3 separate regions of the Homo sapiens genome follow, and regions 2 and 3 are each linked to region 1. Evidence: promoter capture Hi-C in 16 types of primary human blood cells and fetal thymus (Javierre and others, 2016). All regions are on one chromosome and are shown on one strand. The core of a region is centred on a gene start or on the middle of the fragment in contact, and the rest is flanking DNA. Distances in the headings are between cores, read along the strand shown. Region 1 holds the start of DTNBP1 (dystrobrevin binding protein 1). Region 2 has its middle 46 kb from the start of GMPR. Region 3 has its middle 27 kb from the start of GMPR.

The links. Contacts are between HindIII fragments. The CHiCAGO score rates a contact against its expected background, and 5 or more counts as called.
Region 2: a contact is called between a fragment that was not itself captured here and the fragment with the promoter of DTNBP1 in region 1, in 3 of 17 cell types (erythroblasts, M1 macrophages and M0 macrophages). The highest score is 9.3, in erythroblasts.
Region 3: a contact is called between a fragment that was not itself captured here and the fragment with the promoter of DTNBP1 in region 1, in 4 of 17 cell types (M1 macrophages, megakaryocytes, M0 macrophages and 1 more). The highest score is 7.5, in M1 macrophages.

The regions. Positions count from the first base shown.
Region 1 is chr6:15,659,500-15,664,277 of GRCh38, reverse strand. DTNBP1 (dystrobrevin binding protein 1) reads left to right here and starts at 1,250. Exons shown (of 10, transcript NM_032122.5): 1 at 1,250-1,464. The coding sequence starts at 1,409. RefSeq lists a silencer at 1,254-1,763 and an enhancer at 1,994-2,043. The HindIII fragment of the contact is 5,039 bases long and covers 1-4,314 here.
Region 2 is chr6:16,190,449-16,195,160 of GRCh38, reverse strand. No RefSeq gene overlaps it. Among named protein-coding and RNA genes, the nearest start is that of GMPR, 46 kb to the left of the region's middle. The HindIII fragment of the contact is 3,910 bases long and covers 1-3,306 here.
Region 3 is chr6:16,209,663-16,214,054 of GRCh38, reverse strand. No RefSeq gene overlaps it. Among named protein-coding and RNA genes, the nearest start is that of GMPR, 27 kb to the left of the region's middle. The HindIII fragment of the contact is 6,035 bases long and covers 1-4,392 here.

The DNA of each region.
Region 1 (4,778 bases), core at 1-2,500:
GGCTGCTGTGTCAAGGATGGATTATAGGGGTGTGTATGGCAAAAGAGTAGAATCTGGAAGAACTGTCTGTGTTCCCATTGAAAGAGGATGGTGCCTTCGACCAGGATAAATATAGTGAAGATATAGAAAGAGAAGGAGGTTCCAGAAATACTTCAGGAGTAGAGTTGATTGGATTTGATGGGTTAATATGGGGAATGAGGAAAAGAGGGGAACCAGAGGTGATTTCAAGTGTCTTACCTTGAGCAAATTGGTGGATGGTGGTGTCATTTACTGAAACGGAAAATACAGGATGAGCAGATTAAAGGTGAACATGCAATGAATGAAATTTTCAATTTTGTGTATGTTGGTCTGAGATGCCTTTTGGATACATGTTGTATACATGCTTACATGAGTAAGCAACTGGTATGAATTGACGGAGAGGGAGGAAGGACAGGGCAGAAGATAGAGCTGTGGGAGTCATCGGTTCCTTGACAGAATTTACAGCGTGGTAATGGATAGACTCTATGCTATCCATCTATGGAACAACACATCTGGAGAAGAGAGAAGAGCTGGGGAGGCTGGACTGTAGCCTTGGGAGTGGCTATTAAAATAGGAGAAGGGGTGGAGCGGAAGGGAGAGAGGAACTATGGAGTGCTTAGCAAGAGAAGAAAGTGTTTTAAGGATGGGGATGATAAACTGCATTGAAAGCCACTGAGAGGTGGAGAAAAAATCAGGGCAGAGAAGTAATAAAAGGCATCAGCAACATGGAAGTCACTGGTGACTCGCGAAAGGCGATCACCTTTGGTGTGTAGGGCACAAAAGCCTGGGGGGGTAAAGAGAGAGTGGAAAGTAAGAATGTCGAGACAGTCGACTATTATTGCCATTTTATGAATGAAGAAACCGAGGCTCAATATTTGACTGTCTCATTCAAGGTGAAAGCCAGTGGGGTCAGATCCTGGACCTAGAATCCATGCAATGATTTGTGCACATCGCCTATTGAAGAGAGAGATCCAATTCTCTTCCAAAACGTAAAAGCCAACACTTCCCTCAAAGGAGGCTTCGAGTTAAATCATCCTTTCACGATGCCGCTTCCATTTTAAAGAAAAAAAAAAAAAAACGAGAAGGCCTGGTGCGGGATAGGAATGAGCCGAGGAGCTACTGGCCCTCTCGGTCGGGGGAAGACCCGCCCCTTTTCCGCAGCCCGAGCCCGGCGCAGTCCACTGCGGCTGCGCGAGCCTGGCGCGCGCGGGGCGGGAACGCGGAAGGGGCTGGGGTTGCGGCGCGGCGGCGAGGACCAGACCGGGGGCGGGGCCGGTAGTGGGAGTGCGGGGCGCGCGGTGACAGCGCGGGGTTGGCGGCGTGGGACCCAGGGGGCGACAGAGGCAGCAGCAGCCCGAGGCCTGAGGAGAGGAGACCGGCGGCGGCGGCAATGCTGGAGACCCTTCGCGAGCGGCTGCTGAGCGTGCAGCAGGATTTCACCTCCGGGTGGGTATACGGTGGGCGACGAAAAGGGACCTGAGGGGGCCGGGCCGCCGCCTGGGATGCCCCTGCCTCGCTCCCTTCCCCGCGCCACGGTCCAGGGTCCGTCCTGTCCCGCACCTCCCCGCCCCGCCCCGCCGAGGAAAGTAACGAACTTCCCGGCGTCCTCGCGTCGGGCGGCGCAAAGTAACTTAGGTCCCTGCGGGCCGCCTGTGACGCGCACCCCCCAGGACCGGGAGGCGCTCGGCGGCGCAGCGGAGCGCCCGGGGGGGGTGTGGGACCCTGCGGTCCTTTCCCGGCAGCATCAGCTGGGCCCTGGAGGGAAGTCATGTGAGAAGCCAGCGCGCCTCACCGCTTCCGCCCCCGCGGCACAGTGGCCTGCGCCCCTCGGCCCAGCAGACACCTGCTCGTGCGCACCTGGAGCTGGGCCAGCCACCCTCCCCGAGTCGGATCGCACCGCGCAGCAGCCTGCACCCTCCGGCCACAGCCTTCCGCGCCGCGTCTCGGCTTTCACGCCCGGCTCGCCGGCCTAACCCTTGGCAAGGCTGGCCGCCCCTCCCCGTTGCGTCCTTTCTCTACCTTTGCCGTGAGCTCAGCGCCTCGGCGAAGGAACTCCTAAGCAGGAGAAGCGACAGAACTTTAGGAATGCTTTTAATACCCAGCGGTTCCCAAACTTTGCTTAGAATCACCTGGGAACCTTTCAGAGTTCTGATGCCCAGGTCTCACCCCCTACCTGTTGACCAGAGTGCCTGGAGACGGCGTTTTAAAGATCCCCAGGGGATTCCAGTGGGCACCAACGCCTGGGAACCACAGGCCGAGACTCTGGCGCCAGATTGCCTAGGCATCCTGGCTCGACCACTAAATCAAACGTAGTTACTCAGCTGCCTTGCCTCAATGTACTGTTTCCGCTACCGTAAAATGGGGATAATGATGGTACTTAAAAGGTTATTACAAGGATTAATGAATTAATGTGTAAAACACGAAGCAAGCATCATGTCAGTATTGTTACTTAGTGCTTAATTTTAATTTTTTCATTCCTTTAAAGTGAAAAAGATCTGTCTTTGAAAAGGATCTTTCAACTTTAGCTTACAAATCCTGTTGGAGGATGCACTGAATGTGAGAACATTTCCACTCATACTGTTTTAAATTTCTCCCCCCCACCCCCCTTTTTTTTGAGATGGAGTCTTGCTCTGTCACCCAGACTGGAGTGCAGTGGCGTGATCTCGGCTCACTGCAACCGCCGCCTCCCGGATTCAAGCGATTCTCCTGGCTCCACCTCCTGAGTAGCTGGGACTAGAGGCGCCCGGCTTATTTTTGTATTTTTTAGTAGAGACGGGTTTCACCATATTGGCCAGGCTGGTCTCGAACTCCTGACCTTGTGATCCTCCCGCCTTGGCCTCCCAAAGTGCTGGGATTACAGGCGTGTGCCACCGTTCCCGGCCCACCCTCCCCCCCTTTTTTTTAAAGTGACAAGTTCTCGCTCTGTTGCCCAGGCTGGAGCGCAGTGGCGCTATTATAGCTCGCTGCAGCCTCCAACTCCTGGGTACAAGAGATCCTCCCTCCTAGGCTTCCTGAAGTGGTGGGATTATGGGTATTAGTCACTGCGCCCAGCCTCGTTTTAAATTTCTAATGAGAAAGATGTTAGCCAAAATTTTATCTTAATGGACAAAAATGTTAATACTATTTGCACATTGGGCGTTGAATAACAAACTGTCAAACGCTTGAGCACTTACCATGCGTCAATCATTTTTGTTAGTTTGGTGTTTAGAAAGTTATGGACGCTCGGAGTCATTCACTGATGGGTGTGCTTGCGTGCTTGCATTTTGTTCTCCCTATTTAGTAAAAGTACCTTCTTTTCAGAGCGTAAATTATTGTATTGAAAACTTTTTGGTGTGATGCTGAAATGGCCCATTTGTAGCATGAGAGTGGCCATTATTCTCCTGTTAGTACTTCATGGAATTCCTTGATGGCACAAGAGCCCATCTTGTAGTTACTATAACTCTAGGTCACATGGTTGCCTCAGAAGCATTCATGCTCCTGACCTTTGTAAGAAGGCATTTTACCCCGGAATGTAGATTCTGGAGTGGGCTCTGGACTGCTGGGGCACAAACCATCCTGGGAGATCAGGGTAACCCTAAACGTTTAGAGTTAGTTAAGGAGAGACATGCCAAAGGGATCTAGTTAGAACCCCTTGGAAACTGACTTGACTTCTTAAAGATGCCGTAGTCTGGGGCCATTTTGGAGCTAGACATCCTGAGAGGGCTTCATTAGGTCTTTTGTTGGCTTTCTCCTGTACAGGTCACTTTCAGCTGACAAACCACTGGACTGTCAGTGTGTGCCATTAGCCTGTCACCTGGTGGAGAAACAACTCATCTCCAAGTGATGTCAGTCTCCCAGTAGACCCGGACCTCTAGTGCCTGATGTTCACTTTCTTCAGGTCCTCAATTTCCTACATTTAAGCTGTTCGGTTAAACTTTTCCATATTCAGCTTGAGATCAACCTCCTTTACATAACTGATTATTTTTGCCTTGAGGAGAAAAGATGACGCTAAACACAGCACACATGTGTTTATTATATGTTGGTAATGTGGAATTCAAAGATGAAAGAGACGTGAGCTGCATCACTAAAAAAGAAACATATTACATAAATGCAATGCTGATATCATAGATAATAAAATTAACACTAATTTTTTGATATTATCAATTATGCAGTCCATAATCAGATTTGTTTTGTGCTTAGAAATGACTTTTTACAGTTGGTTTGTTCAAATCCAGATCAGATAAGTTTCACACATTAAATCTGTTTAAAAACCAATTTTTAAAACAGACGACTGTTAAAGGGCCACATGGGGAAGCTTTATGGAATCTTCCAACAATTTTGTTGTCCCAGCTACTTGGGAGGCTGAGGCAGGAGGATCCCTTGAGCCCAGGAGTTCAAGACTGGGCAACACAAAGAAACCCCATCTTTTGGCTGGGTGCGGTGGCTCACACCTGTAATCCCAGCACTTTGGGAGCCCGAAGCAGGCGGATCATGAGGTCAGGAGTTCAAGACCAGCTTGGCCAACGTGGTGAAACCCCGTCTCCACTAAAAAATACAAAAATTAGCTGGCCATGGTGGCGTGCGTCTGTAATTCCAGCTACTTGGAAGGCTGAGGCAGAAGAATCTCTTGAATCCAGGAGGTGGAGGTTGCAGTGAGCCGAGATCACACCACTGCACTCCAGACTGGGTGACAGAGGGAGACTCCGTCTCAAAAAAAAAAAAAAAGAAAGAAACCCCATCTCTTAAAAAAGAAAGAAAAAATGAAAAAACATGGCCCTGGC
Region 2 (4,712 bases), core at 102-2,601, 530 kb before region 1:
TCTGTTAGATACAGGTGCTTGAACAGATTTTTTTTTTTTTTGCAAGACTATTATATAGGTAGTGTGGAATACTTCCATCAAGAATCATAAAATGTCACTTTCTAAATGTTACCAGCCATTGTTGATCATTGCTGAGAAACATTAATTCCTTAATGATTCAAATAGTGATATTTTAATTATTTCTTCTTCATTTGTTGGGTAGATTACTTATGTAAAAAGAAACTTGCCCTTGTTAAATATTTGGTTACACTGAGATACAGTTCATATAAAAAATGAAAGAAAAAAATGCTTGATTCTTTCTCCCTATTGATCAGTTTTCAAAATAGTGCATCGGTTCCCTAGAGCCTCTAAAGAATACCAAATGTGTTTCTGTTTCAGTGTTATTATAAACCAATGGATTTAAATACAGTCCATGTGTTTCAACAAATATTTTCTATTTGTTTACATCCATTTTAATTCTTCTCTTTATTGATGCTCAAATTTGTTCCTCTTTGCTCAATAAGAGCTCTTCAGCCTTAAAAAACGATCCCAGTCATTTTCCTGCCATGTGGTATGACAAGATGTTCTATGCTCATCTTGTACATTTCCAGCTCCAGATATCAAATCAGCCATTTCTCCAAAGTGCCCTGGTTTCTTTTAGTGGGAAATGGTATTTAGAAACCACAATCTAAATATGACATTTCTGAGTTTAATATAGACAAAATCTCCTCAGGCTTCACTTATTTCATATGACAAAAAGCAAAAACCAAAACACCTTATTTGAACTTGGTCAATTTATTTTCTTACTTTCAATTTTCTCATTTGTAAAATGCAGATGATAATAATCCTTGCTTATAGGTTTTGGTGCAGATTAAACAAGTCAATACATGTAAAGCATTTAGAATAGCACCTGTGCAAGCGAGCGCTTAATAAATGTTAATGATGATGGTGATTGAACACAGCATTAGCTTTATAATCAGATCTCGATATATGGTGATTGATTTTAAGATCAAAATATTCTTCTTTGACAACTAACAACTCTCCTTGATTATCCATCCAGACATCCCAAATTCACTTGACCTGCTTTCAGCATTCACATTATTGCAGCGGGGTTCAATGGAAGAAGTCAAGGAGAAAGAGCAACCAACTTCAAAGTTATTTTTTGCTTCTTGGAAGACCATCTGCTGTCATGACCCATTTCACGACATGCAAATTCATCAGCTGAGCTCAATTTCCCTTGAATCAGTGGCCCAGTAAATATAATTACTCTGCTAATTTTAAATTCCAAATGGTCAGCTCAGGTTAAAGAATGCTCATTCAGCAGTTGAAATTCTATAACGAATTGAGAAAACAGAGGGTCTACATGCCAGGATTTTGACAGAGAAGCAGGGAACAATTTTGTTTCTTGTCACCTCCTAGGCCACGGGCACACAACAAATAGGAACATTTCCAAATATTTTCCTCTGAATTTTTTTTGTGTGTATGTGTTTGAAATAGGAACTTGACACTTCAGAGAATGGGTAAGGAAATGTGTCTTCACAAACCTGGACTTTTCAAGACTAGGCTGATCTCTTTAAGAGGAATGGGGTGGTTGGTTCTAGAATAAACTATTCAAAGCCCACATTAAAAATAAAGTAATTTGTGACAATGAAACGTTTTCGAAATAATGCATTTGTTCCCTAGAGCCTCTAAGGAACATCAGTGTGTTATTGGACTGGATAATGTACCAAAAACTGCTTTAAAGGATATTATTAGGACAATTATTAGGACATCAGTGTGTTATTGGACTGGATAATGTACCAAAAACTGCTTTAAAGGATATTATTAGGACAATTGGTAAATTTGGCATAAGATTATAGATTAAGGTATTATGTCAATATTAAGTTATCTGAATTTTATTACTTTCTTGTTCTTAGAAAATATACACTGAAAAAATATACGCTGAGGAGTAAAGGGTCATGAAGTCTGCAAAGTACTTTTAAATGACCCAGAAAAACTTAATGTGTGTGTCTGTGCAGACAGAGAGAGTGAGGAGAGAGTGCATGCACACACAAGAGCTCAAGTGTGTCAAAATGTTAAAAATGGATATGGTGAATTTGGGTAAAGGGAATAGGGGAGTTCTCTATAGAATCCTTGACAGTCTGTTATAAATTTAAAATTATTTCTAAATAAAATGTTTGTTTTTGCTTGTTTTTTTTGAGACAGAGTCTCGTTCTGTCACCCAGGCTGGAGTGCAGTGGCGCGATCTCGGCTCACTGCAAGCTCTGCCTCCCGGGTTCACACCATTTTCCTGCCTCAGCCTCCCGAGTACCTGGGACGACAGGCACCTACCACCATGCCCGGCTAATTTTTTTGTATTTTTAGTAGAGACAGGGTTTCACCGTGTTAGCCAGGATAGTCTCAATCTCCTGACCTCGTGATCCGCCCACCTCGGCCTCCCAAAGTGCTGGGATTACAGATGTGGGCCACTGCACCTGGCTAATTTTTTGTATTTTTAGTAGAGATGGGGTTTCACCTTGTTAGCCAGGATGGTCTCGCTCTCCTGACCTCGTGATTCGCCTGCCTCAGCCTCCCAAAGTGCTGAGATTACAGGCATGAACCACCGCGCCCAGCCAGAAAGGATTTTTAAACCTAGTGTTATCCCAGCAGCTGAGTGCACTGGCTCATGCTCGTAATCCCAGCTACTCAGGAGGCTGGGGAGGGAGGATCACTTGAGCCCAAGTGTTCAAGATCAGCCTGGGCAACATAGTGGGATCTTCTCTCTTCAAAAAATAAATAAAATGAAATATATTATTACCCCATTAAAACACACTTTCTCCAGCTGGGTGTGGTAGCTTATCCCTATAATCCTAGCACTTTGGGAAGCCGAGGTGGGCGGATTGCCTGAGCTCAGCAGTTCAAGACCAGCCTGGGCAACATAGTGAGATCGCCCGTCTCTATTAAAAATACAAAAAATTAGCCAGGCATGGTGGTGCACGCCTGTGGTCCTAGCTACCTGTGAGGCTGAGACAGGAGAATTGCTTGAACTCAGGAGGCGGAGGTTGCAGTGAGCTGAGATTGCACCACTGCACCCCTGCCTGGGTGACAGAGTGAGACCCTGTCTCCAAAAAAACAAAACAAAACAAAAAAACACACTTTCTCCAAGATTGTTCCTGTGTGTGTCCCTGATGAGACTGCCTTGCCTGCTTACAGGTCAGAGGTGTGTAGGACAGGATTCCTCCACTGAGTTAGAGATGGTCTTGGATAAGAGGTAGCAAAACCAGGCTATGCCCAATAATCAATTTAGAAACCTTAAAATTAAGATTCCCAGTGTCCTGCCTTTAAGCTTTTGTAAAGAAGGCCCAGAGAGGGCCCCAGGAATCTGTATTTGGAAATCACTAACCAAATAATTCTCATGTAGCCTGTGTACAGACCAACACATGAGGAATACCAGACTAGACAACCTCTAGAATCCCTTTGAGTTTTAAAGCATCAGATTTTATCAGCTGCTAGGTTAGTGTTGTTTAACACAAAATGTGATAAGTTCAGACAAAAAAAGGACTGTACACAGGAAGGGGAACATCACACACCGGGGACTGTTGTGGGGTGGGGGGAGGGGGGAGGGATAGCATTGGGAGATATATCTAATGCTAAATGACGAGTTAATGGGTGCAGCACACCAACATGGCACATGTATACATATGTAACAAACCTGCACGTTGTGCACATGTATCCTAAAACTTAAAGTATAATAATAATAAATAAATAAATAAATAAATAAAAGGACTGTAAACAGCCCATCCACAGTTCCACAACCCTCTGACTATACCTCCCTAAAAAATACGAGGAATATATTTTTCTCCTACAAATTAATGTGTCCTAACTATAATCCTCATACAAATAAAACTACCTGTGAAATTGTGAGTTACAGGTTAATAATTTGTAGACAAAGTATCTTTGGAATTCTGCAAAGGTAGGGGATAGTCATGATTTCACACATGAATTCTATAAGGAGACAAATAAATACCCTGTTGAAAATGAACCATCGTTAAAGAGAACAAGCTTTGCAGTCACAGGTTTGGTTCCACTCTTCACTTCCATCTCCTTATCTGTAAAGTGGGAACAAAAATACAATATCTACTTTAAGGAGATTTCCCCCAGGGATATGTGGATAATGGGATAATAGAACACCACATAAAATGACCAGCATAGCACTTGGTACATAGGAATACTTAATAACTATTAACTCCCTTTCATATTTTCCCTTACGGAGTCAGCACAAGCCACTCTATTTTTAATACAGCTAGTTCTCTTTTTCTACAATTCAATAAGTCAGAAAATAGATTTGATCTTGATATGGCTGCATTAAAGTATTACAAGCATTTCAAAATATTTGGCTCCTTCTTTGATAATTAATGAAAGTACATAGTGTTTTAACTCTAGACGTTCATCAGACGTTTCAAGGATATTTAAAGGAAGGTATTTATATTCAAGGAAGAGAAATATTTGGTCTTAACAAGAACATTTCCAAATGTTATAAAAGGAAGGCTATTTTCAGAGTGTCCTCATCTGTTCCAAAATGACTGGATAAATTAACCCATTCTTCATCCTTCGGCTAGTTACTCTGGCTTTCAGCTATTTCTTTTGGTCTGCCATTCAGTTAGTCTTAAGTTTAATTGTATTACTAATTCCCTCTGCTAATCTAAGAAACTGAAACCACAGCCTGGCCAAGTTTCTATTAAAATTATAGGAAT
Region 3 (4,392 bases), core at 184-2,683, 550 kb before region 1:
AATTGGACTCTTTATTGCAATTCCTCTGCCTTGATAGATCAGCTGTATCTGGGCAGCAGGCAAAATGAACCCATCGGGTGGTTACAATCCCCCTCAGGAATTTATCCTGGGGTGGTTCATTTCCAGCTTTATGAAATAAATTGCACTGGGATAAGAGGCTTTTCCTGATCATCCTATCACACTTCTCTGCCATAAAAATCCTATAAATTGGCCAGGCGCCATGGCTCATGCCTTCAATCCCAGCACTTTGGGAGACTGAGGCAGTTGGATCACCTGAGGTCAGGAGTTTGAGAACAGCCTGACCAATATGGTAAAACCCCGTCTCTACTAAAAATACACAAATTAGCTGGGCATGGTGGTGGGAGCCTGTAATCCCAGCTACTTGGGAGGCTGAGGCAGGAGAATTGCCTGAACCCAGGAGGTGGAGGTTGCAGGGAGCCAAGATTGCGCCACTGCACTCCAGCCTGGGCAACAGAGAGAGACTCCATCTCAAAAAAAAAAAAAAAAAAAAAGAATCCTATAAATTGAAATTAATGTTTCATTATTTCCTGTGACTATAATGATTTAATTGTTAAAAACTTTTTTTGGGGGTTGCTAATAGTTACAACTTTTATTAGAGACAACTGATCAAAACGACTTAAGTAAATTACGGATATACATAATTATTAAACATCAGAAGTAAAATTTCTTTAAGAGGCACCTTTTATTGGGTGCATCTTGGGCTGGATTATACTCGGGTGCTTGATGCAGAACAAGCGCATTTCTTGCTCACACTATTGGTCCACCCAACAAGATGCTTTGCTCATCAGGGTTACTCTGGGACCCGGGCTTCTGCAGGCTTCCTCTCAATGTCTGCACCCATGATCACTGAGGCAGGAGAAATGGAATGTGGCTGCCTGGAAATGATACATGTCACCTCCATGTATACCTCATTAGCCCATGCCAGTCCCAGGGCCAAATCTAACTTCAAACACAGTTGGGGAAGTGCAAACCTTCCATATGGTCAAAAGGGAAGAACTGGAATTCAGGTGACGCCCTGCATAGATAAATGGGGCTTCCCTCCCACTTCCCTTCTAATTCATGTATTCATGAATGAATGTTTATACTTTTTGAGGCAGGGCCTCACTCTGCTGTTCTGGATGGAGTGCAGTGACACAATCACAGTGCACTGCAGCCTTAACTGAGCCCCCGGCTCAAGTCATCCTCCCACCTCAGCCCCTTGAGTAGCTGGGACTACAGGCGCTCGCCACCATGCCTGGGTAATTTTTGTATATTTTTCGTAGAGATGGTGTTTCGCCATGTTGCCCAGGCTTGTTTCAAACTCCTGGGCTCAAGTGATCTGCCTGCCTCAGCCTCCCAAAGTTCTGGGATTACAGGTGTGAGCCACTGCACCCCGCCTGAATGAGTATTATTTATTGCTAGGATGAGAGAGTTCAGAAGTGATTTTATTCCTATTATTGTGTTTGTCTTTATAGATAGAAGTTATGAGAAACTTCGGTCACAAAGAGAAATGTCACTCAAGGGCCAGGCATGATGGCTCATGAGTAATCCCAGAACTTTGGAAGACCAAGTGCTGGAAGATCGCTGGAGCCCAGGAGTTTGCTTGGGCAACATAACAAGAACCCATATCTACAAAAAATTTTAAAAATTAGCCAGGTGTGGTTGTGTGTAATTGTAGCCCCAGCTACCCAGGAGGCTGAGGCTGAAGGATCTATCCCTTGAATCCAAAAGTCCAAGGCTGCAGTGAACTATGATTGTGCCACTACGCTCTAGCCTGGTCAACAAAGTGAGACCGTGTCTCTAAACAAACAAACAAACCCCAGAGAAATATTCCTTAATTCTTTGAACTCTTTCTGAATTATATGTTAAAAGTCTAATGGCGATCTGTCTATAACAAGCATTAACTTACAACGATCTACCAGCTAACACCTTGGTCATGTCCTTCTTTTTCATTGAAAGCAAAAATTTAGAAATCCAAGTTGCTAAATGATTTGTACCCAATGGTAAAATGCATCTCTTTTCCCGATACTCACATGAATATTTCAAAGAGCATCCAGAGATTCTATATGCCAGAGCAATGCAACACCATGAAGATAGGTTGGGCACGAGGGATACCTTTCTTTTGGGAAGCTGAGAACCTTATCTGTGCACTGATAAGAGGGCATGGATGAAAAAAAAATTGACTTTCCATCACTGGTATTCTCAGGTCAGTTTCAAAAAAGAGAGTGGATGCAAGTTGAACATATTGATGGAAATGGATTCCCTTTTATTATTTATTTATTTATTGAGATGGAGTCTTGCTGTCACCCAGGCTGGAATGCAGTGGCGTGATCTCAGCTCACTGCCAACCTCTGCCGCTGGGTTCAAGCAAATCTCGTGCCTCAGCCTCCAGAGTATCTGGGATTACAGGCGCACAACACCATGCCTGGCTATTTTTTTTGTATTTTTAGTAGAGACAGAGGTTTCTCCATGTTGTCCAGGCTGGCCTCAAACTCCTGACCTCAGGTGATCTGCCTGCCTTGGCCTCCCAAAGTGCTGGGATTACAGGCGTGAGCCACTGCGCCCAGCCACCCAGGGGTGCATACACCCCATTGTGAAGCCTGCAGTATTAAAATTTAATACCTGAGCCCATGAGAGGACAGATTTCAGAAATTTCTCTCTCATAGTTCTGGAGAGTAGGAAGTCTGAGATCATGGGTCCAGCTGATTTGATTTTTGGAGAGGGTTCTCTTCCTGGATTCCAGACAGATGCCTTCTTGCTGTGTCCCCACAGAGTAGGGAGAAAGAGAGGAAGAGAGAGTCAGAGAAACAGAGAGAGAGATAAAGAGATAGATAGAGAGAGGGAGATAGAGAGAGGAGACAGAGAAAGAGAGCTCATGCTAGCTCTCTGGTGTCTCTTAAAAGGGCTAGGCTGGGCATGGTGGCTCACACATGTGATCCCAGCACTTTGAGAGGCCAAGGAGGGCCGATCACTTGAGGTTAGGAGTTCGAGACCAGCCTGGCCAACATGGTGAAACCCCATCTCTACTAAAAATACAAAAATTAGCTGGGCGTGGTGGCACGTGTCTGTAATCCTAGCTATTCGCAAGGCTGAGGCAGGAGAATCACTTGAACCTGTGAGGCGGAGGTTGCAGTGAGCTGAGATCAGGCCACTGCACTCCACTCCAGCCTGGGCAACAGAGCAAGACTCCATCTCAAAAAAAAAAAAAAAAAACAAGAAGATTAAACAAGATAATGGATGTATATCAGGGGTCCCCAATCCCTGGGCTGTGGACTGGTACCTGTCCATGGCCTGTCAGGAACTGGGCCACATAGCAGGAAGTAAGTGGACGAAGGAGCATTACCACCTGAACTCAGCCTTCTGTCAGGTCAGTGGCAGCATTAGATTCTCAGGAGCACAAACCCTATTGTGAACTAGGTTTTGTGCTCCTTATGAGAATCTAATGCCTGATGATCTGTCACTGTCTCCCATCACCCCTAAATGGGACCCTCTAATTGCAGGAAAACAAGCTCAGGGATCCCACTGATTCTACATTATGATCAGTTGTATAGTTATTTCATTATATATTACAATATAATAATAACAGAAATAAAGTGCACAATAAATGTAATGCTCTTGAATCATCCCCAAACCATCCCCCATTCCTGTCAGTGGAAAAGTCGTCTTCCGTGAAACTGGTCCCTGGTGCCAGAAAGGTTGGGGACTGCTAATGTCATAGTCTTTATGACTATGCCCAGCACATAGCATTTAATAAATGGAAGCTGTAATATAATAATATATCATTATTATTTTATATGAAAATAAACTCAGATGTATGAACGAGTATTGTGAAAATGCGCATATGTGTTAAAGATAAAACACGGACTTCATTCAGATTCCACGGTCCCCATCTTGGGCTTCTTCCACCGAGACCCCTGGAAGAAGCAGCGTTTGCCATCCTTGGGGAAGCTCTAGTATAAGCCTTTTCCTTATGTTAAAATGCCAAAACCTCTGTGAAAAGTAAGGATATTTATTTAGTGTGTCTCTGATCTTTACCTGAGCTGAAATTTTGTCGGACACAGAAGAGAGAAAGCAAGCATGAAGGTTCTGTGAGCTGGGGCAGGGACTGGGGAACCCACGGGTAGAGAAGGCAATTTGCAGCATGAAATAGAGAAACTCCAAGACTTACACCCCACTTTTCCCATTTCTCGGTGTGACCCAGGGTCTTGTCTCTACCTCTGTGTTTTCTCACCTCTTTTGTTGCATTAGTCAAATGCTGTGTCCTTTAAATCCACGGCATGTCTCCCTCCCTTGTTGCCCTGGAAATGGCTTCTGTTATCCAGCCAGAGAGTTTTATTGATTTCTCTGCCTTCTTTCAACCCCACCTTAAAAACAAGCACAATGCCATAAAAT